Linked DNA regions of Homo sapiens: regions 2 and 3 are each linked to region 1. Evidence: promoter capture Hi-C in 16 types of primary human blood cells and fetal thymus (Javierre and others, 2016). All regions are on one chromosome and are shown on one strand. The core of a region is centred on a gene start or on the middle of the fragment in contact, and the rest is flanking DNA. Distances in the headings are between cores, read along the strand shown.

Region 1 (4,488 bases), core at 849-3,348:
TAGACCAGGTGGGGTGACTCACACCAGTAACCCCAGCACTGGGAGGCTGAGGCGGGCGGATCACGAAATCAGATCGAGACCATCCTGGCTAACACGGTGAAACCCGTCTCTACTAAAAATACAAAAAAAAAAAAAAAACAAACAAAAAACAAAACAAAAAAAAAAACTGGCCAGGCATGGTGGCAGGCGCCTGTAGTCCCAGCCACTTGGGAGGCTGAGGCAGGAGAACGGTGTGAACTGGGAAGGTGGAGCTTGCAGTGAGCCAAGATCGCACCACTGCACTCCAGCCTGGGCGACAGAGCGAGACTCTGTCAAAAAAAAAAAAAAAAAAAAATCACCAAATAACCGACCCAGACCAATCAAATTCTAGTCTCTCCAAGCTGAGATGATATTAGTCTTTTTTTAAAAAAACTCCTCACACATTTCTACCATGCAGCCAGAGTTAAGAAGCACCAGCCTAGTGCCCAGGAACACCGCAGCGGCAAAGATTATTAGGAGTCAATGATTTTATTAAACTGACCTGTTTAGTGAGATGGTGGCAAATTCTTTCAAGGTAGATTATCTGTAGGGAGAAGGAAGTATGGGCGTTCAAGGCAAGAGATAGAAAGTGGAAGTCATTAACTTACAGGGGATTTTTCTTTTTTTTTTTTTTTTTTTGAGATGGAGTCTTGCTCTGTCACCCAGGCGTGATCTCTGCTTACTGCAACCTCCACCTCTCGGGTTCAAGCAATTCTCCTGCCTCAGCCTCCCAAGTAGCTGGGACTATGGGCATGTGCCACCAAGCATAGCTAATTTTGACTTACAGGGGATCTTTAAAGCTGTGTTAGCAGGTACCTCTAAAAGACTGCAGAGAGAACAGAGAAACTAACACAGATTTGTGGACCACTGCTTCCATGGTTTATCAGAGTAATGAGTGGATTATGGGTAAATAAAATGGGAAATCAGCAAACAGGAATCAAAAAGCAGGGGCAAACCGTCAGTCATCAATCACATGCAATGAAAAGATCCCTTGTCAATACTGAACTCTGACTTTTTGCATTATTTTCTTCCTTCCCTCCCCTTCTAAATGGGCTTAGCTTTACCAGGTAGTCTCCTAGCTTTGTAGAATTTTTCCTATAAAATGCTTGCCAAAAGAAAGAGAAACACTTGCCTACCTTTTCATGTCTGCCCTTAAACATGTGAGTGGCACTCCAAGTGGTATTTTCCTCCGTCTCTGCTCTATTTTAGCTGACTGTTTCCTGCTGCCTGAAATTAGCCTGCCCCTAACTGTATAGATTACTTAGGTATGGCTTGCCTAGAGTAATAGATCCTAGTATTAAAAACTTTTGAATAATTCCTATCCACTAAAGTTATTTGATTTTAATTGAACTGAGCAGAATAAACTGACCTCTTCCAAATATTAATAAGTCAGATTGAATGAATCTTTCTGGGTTTTATTCTGCCTCTTAGCATCAAAGCAGAATTTTCCAACTTGAAAATCTTAAAAAGAGACCCTCAGTTATAGTCCGCTTTTAATGCCTGCTTAACTCATTCTGAAATAAATAAGTGGTAAAAGGAACAGGACTACCATCATCTGCTTAGGTTAATCATTGGTAGTGGAAAAAAATTGCTGAGTCAGCCACAGTGATGCTGTGCTGGTTAAAGTCTCACAGATCCTCACAGTTAATGACCATGATTGGTGAAGCAGTTCTCCAATATCACCTTTATTGTCTGTATGAAATCCTTCATATTTTGTAAGAGATGTAATTTCACTCTGTGTTCACATGGTATTGTCAACCACCAACAGTCAATGAGAGACAGATAACATAAGATGGACAGAGGTGGAACAGAGACGATAGAAACAGAAACCAGGGCCACGTTGTGGGAGAAAGTACAGCATGGGTTAGTTCCATAAGTGGTCAGTTCAATCGTGAATATTTTTACTTTATGATCACTCGTTCTTCTCGGTGTAATCTTGTAACTTCTGGGACTCACACAATTCATTTTTTAATGAAAATGTACTTACATTGTCTTATATATTGTAGTATTTGCATTTTTGAGTATATACTTCTTGATTCTGTAGTTAATTTCATCAAACATATCTTTCTGATATGACCCCTGTTTAAAAAAAAAAAAAAGTGAACCTTTTGAAACTCAAGCCTGATCAAGCTACTTCTTGCTTAAAATACTTCAGTGGTTTTCCACTGGTTTTTAGGAGAAACACCAAAATCCCTAATAGGGCCTACAAGCCAAGCAGTGTGTGGCCACTGCCTGCCTTGGAACATACTCTACCTTGTCCTTTATATTCCAGAATTTGTAAAATGGCTGAGTAACAAGTTTAATCACATTATTACATGATGTTCTCTCTTGTTCTCCCAAATTTTCATGTAAAAATTCCTTATACAGTTATAATGCACCCTAAACACAAGGTATTAGTTAAATTCTTATATATTCCATATTTTTATATAAGACTTTTAAAAAACTTTCTCAAAAAGAACTTTTCAATTAAAAATCATTTTCTCACACAGTAGATTAGTCCTTAGGCAGACTGTTCGTGTTGCTATTTAAAATGCCATCTTTTTCTTTGCCAATTTTGTTTTGTTTTGTCTCCCTCACCATCTTTTCACTTCTCGTTATCTCCTGCAGCACTCAAACTTGTTGCTAAAATTTGGTGAAAATGTTTGACAAACTCTATCGTGAATAACAAGTAGATCTTATTAAATTTGAATTCTGAAGTCTGATCTTGGGTGACCTCCTTTCTCTAAGCGTTCATTTTTCAATTATGCCAGACTGGGGCAGGGGAGAGGGTAAGAGGTAGTATTTATTTCCTATGATTACACAAGTAATTTATTCTTTGTAGAACATGTGCAAAGACTAAAAATACACAAAGAAGCAGAAAAATAGTCCATAATCTTAACACTCAGAGACAACCAATGATAATACCCTGGTGTATTGACTGCTCCCACTCTGGTGCCAGTCACCAGCACCTCACACTGAAACCAACCCAATAGTCCCATAGATCAGCAGTCCCCCAACCTTTTTGGCACTAGGGACTGGTTTTGTGGAAGACAATTTTTCCACAAACCATAGGGGGTGGGCAGGGGGAGTGCCGGCAGGTGATGGTTTCAGCATGATTCAAGCACATTACATTTATTGTGCACTTTATTATGCTGGGGAACTGTTGGCATAATTGTGTTTTGAAATGTGAGAAAGGTGAGATTTGGGAGGGACCAGGGGCAGAATGATATGGTCTGGATCTGTGTCCCCACTGAAATCCCATCTTGAATTGTAATCTGAATTGTAATCCCCACCTGTTGGGGAGGGAACTCATGGGAGGTGATTAGATTATGGGATGGTTCTCTCATGCTCTTCTAATGATAGCAAGTGAGTTCTCACAAGATCTGATGGTTTTATCAAGTGTTTTTCCACCTTTGTTTGGCACTTCTCTCTCGCCACCATGTGAAGAAGGACACATTTGCCTCCCCTTCTGCCATGATTGTAAGTTTCCTGAGCCCCTGTGGAATTATGAGTCAATTAAACCTTTTTCCTTTATAAATTACCCAGTCACAGGCAGTTCTTTATTGCAACATGAGAACAGACACAATTATGCCAACAGTTCACCAAAGTCTTAACTCATTTCAGCATTAACCCAAAAGTCTTAAGTTCACAGTCTCATTGAGACCAGGCAAGTCCCTTCTGCCTATGAGCCTAGTAGGATGTGGGTGGGGCCAGATAAAAGAAAAAAAGCAGGCTACCCGAGCCAGCAGTGGCAACCTGCTTGGGTCCACTTCCACACTGTGGAAGCTTTGTTCTTTTGCTCCTTGCAATAAATCTTGCTGCTGCTCACTCTTTGGGTCCACACTGCCTTTATGAGCTGTAACACTCGCCGCGAATGTCTGCAGCTTCACTCCTGAAGCCAGCGAGAGACCACGAACCCACCAGGAGGAATGAACAACTCCAGACACGCCGCCTTAAGAGCTGTAACACTCACCACGAAGGTCTGCAGCTTCACTCCTGAGCCAGCAAGACCACAAACCCACCAGAAGGAAGAAACTCCGAACACATTCGAACATCAGAAGGAACAAACTCTGGACATGCCACCTTTAAGAACTGTAACACTCACCGTGAGGGTCTGCGGCTTCATTCTTGAAGTCAGTGAGACCAAGAACCCACCAATTCCGGACACACTTTCATGGGCTGGCATTGTCTATGGCTTTTCCAGGCTCACCATGCAAGCTGTTGGTGGATCTACTGTTCTGGGGTCTGGAGGATGGGAGGATGAGGGCCCTCTTCTCATAGCTCCACTAGGCAGTACCCCAGTGGGGACTCTGTGTGGGGGCTGTGACCCCACATTTCCCTCCCACACTGCCCTAGCAGAAGTTCTCCATGAGGGCTCCTTCCCTGCGGCAAACTTCTGACTGGACATCCAGGCATTTCCATATATCCTCTGAAATTTAGGTGGAAGTTCCCAAACCTCAGTTCTTGATTTCTGTGCACTTTCAGGCCCAA
Region 2 (4,488 bases), core at 920-3,419, 870 kb before region 1:
CAGGATTTTGAGACCATAAAAAGAATATGGAAATTTATCATAACAGTCATCAAAGATTTAAAGCAGAGAAATGGTATGATCAGGTCTGCATTGTTAAAATAGTGGATTAGGGGATAGATACAGGAATATTTGTTAGAAAGTGATAGCACTGGTTTGTATGGCTTGGGTTAGGCTAGTGATGATGGTTAAAATAGATAGAGGGAATAAATTTGAAAGCAATATCAGAGGTGGAATTTATTGACTTGATGATTATGCGTCCCAAGAAGGAGGAAAATTCAAAAAGATGGTCGTGTTTGTAGGTTGTCATTTGCTTTGATTAGAAACACAAGAAAGGGGGCAGATTTGGGTTAAGTTCACTTCTGTTTCTATTGAGCTTGAAGCTCTTATGAGACATCTAAAAGGAAGAGTCTAAGAAAGAAGATCTGGGTACAATTTTTAATTTAACATTTATTAGTATATATCCTTGAGATGTCTTAAGATTGTACAAAGTCAGAAGAGAAGAGGCCTCAAGTTGATCCAAGGTTTAAAGGTCCAGTATAGGGGGAAATTAACAAAGGAGACTAAAAAGCAACAACCAGGAAAGAGAAGAGAGCCACTGGGAGAACTCTGGCTATATGGCCACACATTTCTAAATAATTCCTGGCAACTTAGGAGGAATCTCCAATTCCTCTTCAAATTTCAGGGAAATATATTGGTTATGATAAATCAGCCATCAGTCAGTCATACAGCTAGTTTTCTGACGGAATAGTGTTAGAATAATGGTTCACTTTCTCTTAATGCAGAACCCTCTCTTCTCTACAGTAATCCAAAGGCCATTGTTTACTGGTTCTACCCAAAGATTTGTCAGAATGTCAAGGAAAGGGTGTAACACTCTGGAAGAATAGAAATGTTAAATGGCAACTGGCAGAGGAGGTAGGCTTCCCATTTTACATTTGAGCTAGAGAAATACACCCAGAAAGCTCTGCCGTCTCCCCTCTGTTGCCCAGTGGTAATGTGAGATGACTGAATTTTTCACCTTTCCAGGCAAAGCTCCGGACATTGCATGCTTGGAGTCCCCCATCCACTAGAGGGCTCTCACCACACAGGTGATAGTTTGGAGGTCTCAGGGCCTACAACAATGTGTTTCAAAGGCTATCTGTGAAACTAGTGTAATTTTGTACAGTTCAGTCATACAATAGAGTTAGTGTTAGAAACACTGACTGAGAAAAAAAATAGATGAAGCAATTATATTTCTCTCTGCTTGGAAGTCTTTTCCCAACTGTATGTAATTTATACAGGTTGGCAACCTACAAAATTCTTTGTTAGCAAATTACAGCGTGCAATTACATCTTAACTCTGTTTATCTTTATTTCTTTACCCTCTTGTTCCTTCAAATAATTTCATCCTTTCCCCCTTCTTTTTAAAGCTTGCAAAGAGAAAAAAGAAATTAAACTAATGCAGAATATGGGAAGCTTTCCTCTTTATTGCCCTTCCCCTTGCCCTACTGGTCTACCCCAAACACTTTTTTCTACAAGCTTCTTAACAAATATAGACATAATATAAAATTATTTTTAGAGTCCAAAATGAGGACTCGTGCTATAACAGTGGAACACTGCTTTAAAAGTGACATATATTATCACATATATTGTGCTCAAATACCTCAAGGATAGGCCAACTATTTCTAAATGCATTAGATTTTGAACCCATCTGTTGCAAACTTTTGAACAATTTTTTGAGTGGCTTTGGGATTCAGACTAAGGTATTGGGCTGGAGGAACTGCAAGAAGCAGCCCTGGAGTTTAGCCTTCCACTCTATCTCAGAACTGAACCTATTGGAATCATGCCATGGTATTCCTGGGTATAGAAGTTCGATTCTGGCAGAGTTTTTTTCTTTGCCCAATGGAAGGTGTATTCTCCAGGCATAGAGTGCTTTCTTTTCAAAATGAGTTGATTCTGCCTTGTATCTAAAATGTTTAAAATCCCCAGCAGATCTCTGGAGGGCATATTTACAGCCAACTTATAGGTTTACTGACCTCCCCCACCACCACCTGCAGAACATTACTGGGAGAAAAAGCCCACCAATAGTCAAGTCATATAGTCTGGACGATCCAAGATCCGTAGAGTCTTATTTGGACCTGTTGTACAACCAAAAGTATGTGGGAGTAGAGAATTACTACGCAGTCTCTTTCCTCATTTGTTGGCAATGAAACAGAATCACAGTAATTATATCAGAATGCTCTGTAGTCTCTGGATGAGCTATATATATTTCTGTTTGATGAATTTCTCCTTATTTTATCAATGCCAGGTTATTTAGGAATGCTGCTTCTGTATATGTCATTTCCATACATATTTTATGACAATAAAACAGATCAAACAATACAAATAAATTCGACTGATTTGTGTTTATTAAACTCCTTACAACATGTGGTATTATACTATACTTGACAGCACTTTAAATATTCAGAAAATGTGTTTCATGTACTTTTTTTGATCAAAGATCATAATCAGACATCCGACCTAATTTGTGGATTTTATTCTATACATTTTAATTCAATCAATTGACATTACCTTTGATCTGAGATGATTCTACACTAAACAAGAATATATAAACAGAGGGATCAAATATCTTCACCTAAAAACCACTGCTGGAATGCCTCCCAAATGCTTCTTGATTGCCAACAGAGGTATCATTCAAATGTAGTTTGAGGGACATGATGGAGAAGAGCATTTGCTATAATTGAAACTGCAAGTGGTTATTCTTTGTTAATTACAGTGCAAATACAGAATTTTAAAAACTGGCAAGAGTATCACCTCTCAACAGTTTCCTTTACCCATTAGAAGCTTTGCCATTAGGATAATGGGTGTCTAAGGAAGATTTTTCTATTTTGCCCTATCTGTTTTACTGCTCTTCCTTTTCCCATAAATGAATCACAAGAATTTGGAATCACTGGTAAAGATGAAAATGGATGTTCGCATTTCTAACTTTGACCTCACTTCTTCACAGAGTTTTGTTCATTTTCAAGTGAAACTTGTCTTATAAGACATATGGGCTGTGAAGGAGAGGAAAACAGTAGGGAAGGAGAGGGGAAGGTTGGCTGGGAAGAGGAGGGGAGTGGTGAGATACCATCCCAAGAAGCCTTTTTACTTGAAGAAAATGCTATAGCCCTAACAGAAAATGAACTATATGTAAACAGAAATGACATCATAAATCACTTCTCTTTTCAGTAACGTCCAAAGCTGCAAGGTCTGTCTGCCTCTATCTATTCTAAATCAAGCTCACGTTGAATATTCCACTTGCTTTCTCTGCCAAAGAGAGAGAATCTCACGATAAATACACACTGATTTGGTCAGTGGAATATATGCTACTATGAAAGTTGAGACAGTTTGAGCAGTAATGAACTCTGGAGTTATGCCATTTATAGTTCTTTGTGTTTTTATTAAATATTATGCATGGGTTCTTGTATTTGTTTCAATATAATGTTATGGTGAACTACTGACTGAATGTATCTGTTTGCCATGTGGGTTATAGGCATCTGTTGAATATTAGGGAATGTAATTCAAGTGATTTGCCAAGAGCTCCATCAGAGATGTGGCCTGTGCATATTTCTGAGTTGAGAACACCACCTGAAGTATATTGACCTGTGGTAGTGCAGTGATACATCTGAGCCAGGAAGCACAATGACCAGCCCAATTAGTTAAAGTGTCATAAATATGCCACTACATTTCTCATTTATCACAAGTCCAATACAATTTCTTATATTTCACTTTCAAAGCTTTGAAATATCAACTCAAACTATCTGTGGATTTGGTGCTTTTCATATCTTAGGACCAAAGGGACTGACTTGAGTTTTGAGTAGAATATAAAGTGAAGAAGTAAATGTTCTTAGGACAAGTGAATATGCTTTAGTGGGAATGATCTGTAATTCAAGACTTTCCTAGACTAGAAAACAATAGTATGATAGTCTGGAAATTGACATGAGGTCTACATGGAACCACGTAGTGAGCAGCTATTGTTGTTTTGTTGTTGGTTTTTGACTTCATGAACAGTCCAGATCACTTTTCTAGACACATAATTTAAGAAATCTACATATAATTTGTTGATTTCATGTTTTTATAATACTATCAGATAGATGCAACTATTAACTGATCCGGACAGAAAAAATATTGCACCGAGTAGGTGGGCATTTTTATGCCATCTTTGTTTGGAGTTGGCCATATTTTTTGAAAAAAAAAACAAAACAAAACTTTTTTTAATGTAAATGTTTTCTATTTCTCTGATTTGTAGCTGGGCGTAAATACAAGTTATAAAAATCATGTTTTAAAAATGAAATTTAATTTTTATGTGGTTTTCTGCCTGGGTGGTTTATTTAAGCATTATGTGGAATGAGATGGTGGGTAGTTTTAAAGTATAAGGGTATTTAAAAATATGTGGCAACTTGGGCTGGGTGCAGTGGCTCATGCCTGTAATTCCAGCACTTTGGGAGGCCAAGGCTGGTGGATCACGAGGTCA
Region 3 (4,488 bases), core at 1,423-3,922, 550 kb before region 1:
TCTCCTTTTTCAAAATTGTTTCAATTATTCTAAGTCTTTTGCATTTCCACATAAAATTAACATCAGCTTGTCACTTTCAACAAATAAGCTTGTTAGAATTTTGTGATTGCCAATTTTAATGAATAAGTTCATTGACCAATTTGAGGAGATGAATTTGAGGAGAGAATTTGGAGAGACATCTCAACAATATCATGTTTTCCAATCAACAAATATGGCATATACCACGCTTTATTAAGTCTTCTTTAAATTGCCTTAGTATTTATTTATAGTTTTAAGTGTAGAAGAATTGCATGTATTTGGTCAAGTTTATCCATAATTCATACTTTATGCTATTGTTAATACCCCAATTTAATTTTTAAGATACAAGTGTTAGCTCACTTATTAGTTCTAGTAGGTTTTTGTTAGACTTAAAATTTTCACCATAAACAGCCATGGCATCTATTCATAAAGAGATTTATTTTTCCCTTTCCAATTTGTATGTCTTTCCTTTCTTTTCCTTGCCTTTTGCTCTGGCTGCAACTATCAGGATAATGTCAAAAAGAGCTGGTGAGAACAGTTATTCTTGCCTTGCTCATGATCACTCAGTGTTCCACCCCCAAATATGATGTTAGTCGTTGTTTTTTTCTAGATTTTTTTTTTCAGAATATCTAAGTTGCCTTCAATTTTTGGTTTGCTGAGAATTTTTATATTATGAATAGGTGTTGATTTTTGAGGGGAAGCTTTCAGTGTTTCACCATTAACTATTGTGTTACTTGTATAAACACACACACACACACACCCCAAAAACCAAAAACCAAAAAATATATATAAAATTTGTTTAAATTGAGGAAATTTCCTTCTTCTTTTAGTTTGCTGAGAGTTTTTAACATAAATGGGTAATAAAATTTGTCAGATACTTTTCCTGCATCTATTATGGTTGATAAAAGAAAAACTTCAGCCAAATTAAATTTAAAAGAGTTTAATTGAGCAATGAATGATTCACGAATCGGCAGCCTCCTGAGTCAGAGTAGGCTCAGAGACGCTAGTGCAACCATGTGGCAGAAGAAGATTTTATGGAAAGAAAAAGGAAAGTGAGGTACAGAAACAGCTGGATTGGTTATAACTCAGAGTTTACCTTATTTGAAAATGGTTCAAAGAGTTGGCTACATTTGATTGGCCAAAACTCAGTCACTGGCACAACGGTAGGCTAGGGTCTGTTTACACCTCCACTTGTTATAATTCAAGATGTACAGTTAAGTCTTTAGGCCGAACTTAAAATATGTAAGGAGGCAGCTTTAAGTCAAACTTGATTTAACAGGGCTTTTCTCCTTTATTGTAATAAACAATGAGATACATGGATTGATTTTCAAATGTAAAATCAACCTTGCATTCTTGAGATAAAGCCGGTTGGTAAAGATGTGTTATCTTTTTAAATATTTTCCTTAATTTAATTTTCTGAAAGTAACAATTGTTGTGTCTGTGTTAACATGGGATACTGGTCAGCAATTTATTATTTTTTTGTAATATCTTTGACATTTTTGACATCAGGGTACTGCTTGCCTCATAAAAGGAGTTGGGAAGGTTTTCCTTCTCATCTATTTTCTGGAAGTTTGAGGAGAACTCCTAGTATCAATTTTCTACTTAAATATATTTCTTTAAATTCCCCAATGAAATCAACTGGACCTGAAATTTTCCTTGTGGGAAGATTTTTATCCATAAATTTAATTAGTTACTAGTATAGGACTATATTACTAACATTCCCTTATTATCCTTTTAATTCCTGTAGAATCAGTATTAATGTTCCCTCTTTCATTCCTGATATCTTTTTTGGTATGTTCAGACTGACTAGTTGTTTATCAGTTTTATTGACCCTCTCAAAGTAGCGTCTTTTGGTTTTATCCGATTTTCCCTTGTTTTTCTGTTTCCATTTTCAATTATTCCCATACTTATTTTTATTTTTTTCTATTTTATTGCATATTTTGGTTAAATTTCCTCCTTTTTTTCCTAAGGTGGAAAAATATATCACAGATTTTTTTTTGAGAACTTAAGGATGACATATTACAGATTTGAGACCTTGTTTATCTTCCTGATACAAGCATTTTATGCTATAAATTTCACTCTAAATCCTACTTTCTTGCTTCAGTCTATAAATTTTGATATGTTATTATGCTAGTTATTAATTGATTCTCATCTCACATCCATCTATTTTTGTCCTGATTTGGGAAACTAAAAACGAACCCTGTAAAAATTTCCCTTTAGACAGCTGCTTAATGTTAGCCTTAGTGGTTGCTGGGGGATCACTGCAAGACAAAGCAAAGGAAGAGGCTTCTTTCTGGTGTGATTTTTCTTTTTCTCCCATAGTAACCAGTGATGTGCAGGCGGCTCAACAGTACTCAGTCAGTGAGTTTCTCCAGCAGTTCAGAGGGCTGCTTCTGGTGGAAGAGCTCTAGGAAGACAGTGCTACATGAGGACCTCTTTGTTTTTTTTTTGAGACAGAGTCTGGCTCTGTTGCCCAGGCTGGAGTTCAATGGTTTGATCTCGGCTCACTGCAACCTCCACCTCGTGGGTTCAAGCGATTATCCTATCTCAGCCTCCCAGTAGATGGGATTACAGCCTCCAAGTAGCTGGGATTACAGGCACCCGCCACGAGGGCCTGTTTCTGCATAGTGGCCGTGGCCCTCCATTATTTCAGCAATGGATTGTTTCTTTGGACCACCTTTGACCAGCCTGTCACTTCATGGACACTCTGCAGGGAGTTTCCATAGAACAGCTCCAGCCTACCCGACCCTCTACTGAATTTTCCAGATACCCAGTGGATTCCTCTTATGAATGAGCTCTAGCTGCAACCTCTGGCAAGTTTGTTTGCCATAGGTAGATTGTAGTTGCTTGTAGTAGTCATACTCTCTCTAATAAAGTCTGTAACTTAGACAAGCAAGGGGAGGGGAATATCTTCCAACTTCTAAACTCCTTTCATCTGTATTCTTACTCACCAGAAATAATGGATGGTTTCTGCATTTATTACTCCTATATTCCACTAGTTACCTATATTATTAACCCTTTACTAGTTAATAGTTCTTCACCCTAAAATGTTCGTGTTGAACATATTGCTGTGGTTTCTATCTACTGATTGGAACTTGACTAACTTGTGTTTCTATTTACCTTTAGTTCAAAATATTTTCTAATTTCCCTTATGAGTCCTTTTTTGACCCAGAGGTCATTAAGAAGTATGTTGGGCTGGGCGTGGTGGCTCACACCTGCAGTCCCAGCAATTTGGGAGGCCGAGGTGGGTGGATCACCTGAGGTCAGGAGTTTGAGACCAGCCTGACTAACAGGGAGAAACTCCATCTGTACTAAAAAATACAAAATTAGCTGGGTGTGGTGGCACATACCTGTAATCCCAGCTACTCAGGAACCAGAGGCAGGGGAATCGCTTGAACCCGGGAGGCGGAGGTTGCAGTGAGCCGAGATCGCACCATTGCACTCTAGCCTGGGCAACAAGAGTGAAACTCGTCTCAAAAAAAAAAATGTTGCAAAAAAAAAAAGATGTTGCCTTATTTCCATATATTTTAGTATTTTCAGGATGAATTCACATTATTTAATTTTAGTTTAATTTTGTTGTGGCCAAAGGTGATACTTTATATGATTTATATTTTTTCTTTATTGTGGTAAAAAAAACACATAATATGACACCTACTCATTGTTGTACAACACATCTCTAGAGCTTTTTCATCTTGCGTGACTGAAACTCTAGATTCATTGCATAGCAAATCTCCATTTCCCCCTACCCTGAGTCACTGGCAGCTAACATTAAACTTTCCATTTCTATGAGTTTTTACTACTTTTGATACCTCATATAAGTAGAATCATGTGGTATTTGTCCTTCTATAACTAGCTAATTTCACTTAACATAACATCCTCAAAGTTCACCCATGTTATGGCATAGGATAATTTTTTTTTCTTTTTAAAGGCTGAAAAGTATCCCATTGCATGATTATGCCACATTTTCTTTATCCATTCATCCATCAAAGGATTTTAGTTGTTTTTACATCTAGGCTATTGTGACTAATGCCAAAATGAACATGAAAGTGAAAGTGCACATATTATTTCAAGACCCTGTTTTGAATTATTTAAATAAATACCTGGAAGTGGGATTGCTGGATCATATGATACTTCTACTTTCAATGATGAGAAACCTCCATATTGTTTTTCATAAAGATTATAGAAGTTACATTTGTACCAATGGTGCACAAGGGTTCCCTTTTCTCCACACCCTTGCCTAAACTTGTTATTTCTTGTTGCTCTCTGTTTCATTTTTGTTGTTTCTTTGATAATGGTCATCTTGAGAATTATGAGGTAATATCTCATTATGGTTTTAATTTGCATTTTCCTGAATATTAGTGATATTGAGAGTCTTTTCATGTACATATTGACTACTTGTATGTCTTCCTTGGAGAAAGGTCTATTTAAGTTCTTTGTTTATTTTAAAAATCAAATATTTCATTTTTTTTC

What was found. The method cuts DNA at HindIII sites, captures the fragments that hold promoters and counts their contacts. A CHiCAGO score of 5 or more calls a contact.
Region 2: a contact is called between a fragment that was not itself captured here and the fragment with the promoter of LINC02869 in region 1, in 1 of 17 cell types (naive B cells). The highest score is 6.4, in naive B cells.
Region 3: a fragment that was not itself captured here is called in contact with the fragment with the promoter of LINC02869 in region 1 in 1 of 17 cell types (endothelial precursors); the score reaches 5.5 in endothelial precursors.

What each region holds. Positions count from the first base shown.
Region 1 is chr1:218,507,705-218,512,192 of GRCh38, reverse strand. LINC02869 (long intergenic non-protein coding RNA 2869) reads right to left here and starts at 2,098. Exons shown (of 3, transcript NR_146760.1): 1 at 2,006-2,098. The HindIII fragment of the contact is 5,893 bases long and covers 1-3,785 here.
Region 2 is chr1:219,382,591-219,387,078 of GRCh38, reverse strand. It overlaps a transcript of LYPLAL1 not described here. Among named protein-coding and RNA genes, the nearest start is that of LYPLAL1-AS1, 170 kb to the left of the region's middle. The HindIII fragment of the contact is 1,305 bases long and covers 1,517-2,821 here.
Region 3 is chr1:219,058,881-219,063,368 of GRCh38, reverse strand. No RefSeq gene overlaps it. Among named protein-coding and RNA genes, the nearest start is that of LYPLAL1-DT, 110 kb to the left of the region's middle. The HindIII fragment of the contact is 3,902 bases long and covers 722-4,488 here.